Linked DNA regions of Homo sapiens: region 2 is linked to region 1. Evidence: promoter capture Hi-C in human tissues and cell types (Jung and others, 2019). All regions are on one chromosome and are shown on one strand. Each heading gives the region's core, a stretch centred on a gene start or on the middle of the fragment in contact. The rest is flanking DNA. Distances are from core to core; before and after follow the strand shown.

Region 1 (2,729 bases), core at 155-2,654:
CTGGCCCAGCTATCTCTGCCAGCTCTGTCCTGGACTGACTCCACATAGGTCCCCTTGCACCTTGCTCAGCTTGGGAGCCTGTGGACTTTCAGGAAAAGAACAAGTGAACACCTAAGCCTGTGTGACGACTCAGTTTCATCATTGTAAAATGGGGTAACCATATGCCAAACTCATACGGGTTTTATTACTCAGTGAGCTGCTCACAAGCCGCGAGTACAGTGACGGGCACACAGCGGGCACTCAGTCTCTGACCACTGGGGCCCGTATCCACAGACGTACTTATCCCCTGACCAGGAACTGCGATGACCTTCGAGTTAGGAAATAATGAGACTGCAAAATTGTTGTGTTTTCTTGTGTGGAAGAGCAGGATGTTTTAGTCTTGTTTGGAATGGAACATGATCATTCAGGGTGCTCCTTTGTCGTTTTTACTTTGAATGGACGATTGTGCTAACTTAGCATTCTGCTTCCAGGAGCTCGCTCTTCAATACACAATCTATTAAATACAATAGCAAGGATTCCCTACATTATAATGCAAAGCTTTAGGGCCGGATCCTCCAACACACGCATTGTGGTATTAAAACAAAATCACATCACGCATGGAACTCTCAAGATAGTGGAAAATACCAGCTACAACATCCAGTGATGTGTGACCCGGAGGCACGGAGCTGACTAGAATACCGACGGGCCAGAATTTCAAAACGCGGATTTTGAATCTTTTTTTCTACTTAGCCTAATAAGTTTGGGTCTTTTACTTAACGTCTATCTAGGCGGCTCAGCTTCAAGTTCTGCAAATTGGAGATAATATCATTAAGTTACAGATGTTATTTGAAAAGGCAACGAACCATTGTAACCATTTTTGTAAACCATGAAGGTATATTATAAGAAAAGGAGGAGGAAAATGAGAGGTAACTTGTGCATTGTTGGATGTTGTTTGCCTGTTCTGCTTTTTCTCTTGTCCAGCAAGGCTTGGGTAGACAATCATACATCATGAATGGTTAACTTGAAAACTGAGTTCTACTGGAAAGACTGGCAGGCAAGCAGAGGTCGGAATCCCGTCGTTTCTAAGTGTCTGGTAATCTTTGCCACTGCTAAGATTACCTGGGGGTAGAAGCACCGTCGGTAGGAACAAGATGTGCCCCTTCACTCCCCGAAAGCTCACTTATCCTGCGCAGACATGTTGAAGGGCCGTCGGGCTTCAGAGCCCAAATCTCGGCTCTGCAGAGACGTCCCCTTCCCCCGCCTCCACCAACCGCTCTTCGGCATGCAGAAAAGCGGTCCCCACCCCTTCCACGCCCCTGCCCCACCTCTTGGCCCCCTTTACAACCCCCTCTTCTTTGCCCGGGGTGGTTTGTTCCAAGGAGTACAGATAGCCTTTTCAAAAGGCGCAGCTTACCGCGGTGCGCGCGGATTCTGGACTTGGGCGCCAACTCGTAGTCCACGCTCCCCGGGGTCAGCAGAGGGGCGCTCACGCTCTCGCCACCCACCTCGCTTTCTCACCCCGCGCTTCCCGGCCTGGGTTTTTAGTCTTCCTTGGAGCGCTCTCTGGCCTCCGCCTCCGCCAGGGAGCGGAAGGCGGAGACAGCGAGACTGGCCAGGGGGGAGGAAAGAGGACGCGTGTGGGCAAGGGGGACAACGGGATGTCCACGGGCTCGGTGAGTGATCCGGAGGAGATGGAGCTTCGGGGGCTGCAGCGGGAGTACCCGGTCCCCGCCTCCAAGAGGCCGCCCCTCCGCGGCGTAGAGCGCAGCTACGCCTCGCCCAGTGACAACTCGTCGGCAGAGGAGGAGGACCCCGACGGCGAGGAGGAGCGCTGCGCTCTGGGCACAGCCGGCAGCGCGGAAGGCTGCAAGAGGAAGCGGCCCCGTGTGGCTGGGGGCGGCGGCGCAGGTGGTAGCGCGGGCGGTGGTGGCAAGAAGCCCCTCCCGGCCAAGGGCTCAGCCGCAGAGTGCAAGCAGTCGCAGCGGAACGCGGCCAACGCCCGTGAGCGTGCCCGGATGCGCGTGCTGAGCAAAGCCTTCTCCAGGCTCAAGACCAGCCTGCCCTGGGTGCCCCCCGACACTAAGCTCTCCAAGCTGGACACGCTCCGGCTGGCTTCCAGTTACATCGCTCACCTGCGGCAGCTGTTGCAGGAGGACCGCTATGAGAACGGCTACGTGCACCCAGTGAACCTGGTAGGGGCGCGGCGCGCAAGGATTCGGGAGAGCAGCCAGGAGATACCCAGGGCGCTCCTGGGCGCCGGGCAGGGTCAGCCCGTTGGGAAGAATTCGAAAGGGGTGGAGGTTCTGGGACTGGGAACGAGAAGGCCAGTTTAGTTTCTCCCAAATCAAGGGAGTGGCCAGCCATTTCCCTGAAGAAGAATCAACCCTCCGTGTCTGTTTGCATCGTTCTGAACATTGTACCCCAGTGACAGCCATTGACTAATATCCTACTTCCAGGGTAAATCTTGGTTCCATCTCCATCTGCCACCAGGTTGCAGACTGACGGCAAATCTCCCTTGCCCAACTTAATCCAGCTGAGTCGGGCAGGTTTGAATCGGCAAGCCCTTTCTTAAAGGAGGGAAGGCCGAGCTCTATAAAAGAGCATTTGCATTTTTAGAAAAATTGCTTGTGGAAGATAGTAACGTTTCCCCAGATGGGATTTATCTGGAAAGTCCCTCTCTGATCTGCCAGCTCTCCCGGCTTGGGAAAAATCCTGTCCAAGCCCAGTTCCTACTTGGAGCTTGGAGTGGA
Region 2 (2,906 bases), core at 208-2,707, 590 kb after region 1:
ATAAGTGGAATCATATAGTACTTCACTTTTTGTGACTGGCTGGTTTCACTCAGGACAAGGTCCTCAAGGTTCATCCGTGTTATAACATGTCAGAATTTCCTCCCTTTTTAAGGTTACATAATATTCTGTTGTATGTATATGCCACATTTTATTTTTTTGATATATCTATCAATGGTCATTTGAGTTGCTTCCACCTATGACTGTTTTAAATAATGCTGCTATGAATATGAGTATGCAAAATGTCTTCCCTGCTTTTAGTATTTTTTGGGTATATAATCAGAAGGGGAATTGTGGGATCATATAGTAATTATATACTTAATTTTTTGAGAAACTGCTGTACTGTTTATCTTAGCAGCTGCAGCATTTTATGTTCCCACCAGCTGTGCACAGGGATTCCAATTTCTCCACATCCTCATCAACACTTATTATTTTCTGTTTTTTGTTTTCTGATAGTAGCCATTCTAATGGCTGTGAGATAATAACTCACAGTGGTTTGGGTTCACATTTCCCTCATGAATAATGATGATGAGCATATTTCATGTGCTTTTTGACCATTTGTATAACTTCTTTAGAGATGATCCTTTTCCCATTTTTTAAATCAGGGTTTTTTTTATTGAGTCATAGGAGGTCTTTACATATTCTGGATATTGACCCCTTATTAAATATATGATTTTCAAATATTTTCTCCCATTCCGTGGCCTGCCTTTTCACTGTTGTTTCCTTTGATTATACACATTTTTCATTTTGATGTTTTGAATTTATTTTCTTGGTTATTGCCTTTGCTTTTGGTGTCATATCCAAAAAGTCATTGACAAATCCAATGTCATGAAGCTTTTCCTATACCATTTTATATTTTAGGTCTTTCATTTAGGTTTTTGATCTATTTTGAGTTAATTTTTGCATATGGTGTAAGGTAACGATTTACCTTGAATTTTTTGCATGTGGATATCCAGTTTCCCCAGCACCGTTTGTTGAAAAGACTATTATTTCCTCATTGAATGGTCTTAGCACCCTTATTGAAAATCATCTTATCATACATGTGAGGGCTTATTTCTGGTCTCTCTCTATATTCCATTGGTCTGTACATCTGTATTTTTGCCAGAACCACATTGTTTTGATTACTGTGTCTTTGTAATCAGTTTTGAAATTGGCAAGTGTAACACTTCCAAGTTTGTTATTTTTTAAAATTGTTTTGGATCTTCAAGGTCCCTTGAGATTTCATATAAACTTCAAAATGGAGTTTTCTGTTTCTGCAAAAAAATACTATTGGGGATTTGATAGGGATTGCATTAGATCTGTACATCACTTTGGATAGTATTGACATCTTAACACTATATCTTTCATCCATGAACATGGGATGTCTTTCCATTTATTTGTATCTTCTTTAATGTTTTTAGCAATAATTTTTTAAAATTTTTCAGCGTACAAGTGTTTTCCCTCCCTATTTAAGTTTATTCCTAAGTATTTGATTTCTTTCATTTCTGCTATTGTAAATGGAATCATTTTCTTAATTTATTTCCTGGCTTAGTCGTTGTTAGTGTATAGAAACACAACTGATTTTTGTGTGTTGTTTTTTCATCCTGCAACTGTGCTGAATGTATTCATTAGTTCTAACAGACTCTGTGTGTGTGGTGGGGGGCGGGGTGGGGGGAGGTCTTCGGGGCTTTCTACACACAAAATTATGTCATTGTAAACAGATATCATTTTACTTCTTCTTTTACAACTTTGACGCCTTTTATTTGTTATTCTTGCCTAATACTTCTGGCTAGAACTTCTATGTTTTGTTACACAGAAGTGGCAAAAGCAGCCTGGTTGTCTTGTTCCTGATCTTAGAGGAAAAACTTTCAGACATTTACCATTGAGTATGATGTTCGTTGTGGGCTTTTCATATATGAGCTTTATTTTGCTGGGTAATTTCCTTTTCTTTCTAGTTTATAAAGTGTTTTTCTCCAGTAGTTTTGTTTATTTACTTTACAGTTTATTATATGTCTCCTAAGTGTCTATAATCTATAGATTCTCACTCAATCCCTTTTTATAAACCTTGTGTATTTCTGTTGAAGTAACCAGACTGTCTGTCCTACAGAGTTCCTGGGAGTCTGGGTTTTCTTGACAGCAACCCTATTGTATTATTTAACATGTTTCTTTGTCCTCTGTATTTCCTACAATCTGATAGCTAGATCTAGGAGCTTGCTTAGTTAGATTCAGTTTCCTTTTCTTTTTTTTTTTTTTTTTTTTTTTTTGGCCAAGACTTTATAGATGGGGTATATCCTTGAGCATCTAGTTGTTGTTTTTAAAACTTCAGTACTCCAGTTGGAGAAGCTCCTTCAGCAGTCCATTACAGAATGTTTTTACTTATGCTGTACATTCTTTCGTTTTAGCTCTAAGGAGGTTGACTAAGAAGAAGAAAACTCAAGAGTTTGGAAGTTTTATGAACCACAGATTCTTAATTGATCTGAATCAAATATCTGTAGCCTTGCTGCCAGAAAAAAAGACTGACAGTTCCTGTTGCAGATAATTAGCTCAGAGCTATTTTTGCTGAGGTGAAGTTTTGAGATGAAACTAAACCACTTGCTGAATTTTGATATTTTCTCAAGTATCAACTCTTCTTGAATAGCTCTACAGTATTATTGCATATTTTTGATTAAGGCTTCCTCGTTACCTTTAGTGGACAAGTAGGTGTCTTGAGTGACTCATGCTGAGTCACCTGGCAGGTGCCACATTCCTTTGTTATCTTTTCAATAGTGTGGTGAAGTTCAATTTACCACCCTTAGTTTCAAGTGAGAGAACTAACTGATAGGATCAGTGAATTAACATGGTTAGTCTATAGCTATGCTTGGTGGCTAACTTTAAAGGCAGATTCCAGCTATCCTACTTGAGGACATTTGCTCTACGGGTAGTTTCTTTGT

What was found. Contacts are between HindIII fragments. The study calls those that stand out against the background at their distance.
Region 2: a fragment that was not itself captured here is called in contact with the fragment with the promoter of MSC in region 1 in 1 of the 25 tissues and cell types used here (mesendoderm cells).

Annotation. Positions count from the first base shown.
Region 1 is chr8:71,843,087-71,845,815 of GRCh38, reverse strand. MSC (musculin) reads left to right here and starts at 1,404. Exons shown (of 2, transcript NM_005098.4): 1 at 1,404-2,171. The coding sequence starts at 1,638. It overlaps MSC-AS1 (MSC antisense RNA 1), which reads right to left and starts at 2,693. Exons shown (of 5, transcript NR_033652.1): 1 at 2,112-2,693; 2 at 1,394-1,587. RefSeq lists a silencer at 1,786-2,055. The HindIII fragment of the contact is 6,952 bases long and covers 1-2,729 here.
Region 2 is chr8:71,253,578-71,256,483 of GRCh38, reverse strand. The region is part of intron 11 of EYA1 (EYA transcriptional coactivator and phosphatase 1); the gene reads left to right. Among named protein-coding and RNA genes, the nearest start is that of EYA1, 110 kb to the left of the region's middle. The HindIII fragment of the contact is 6,702 bases long and covers 1-2,906 here.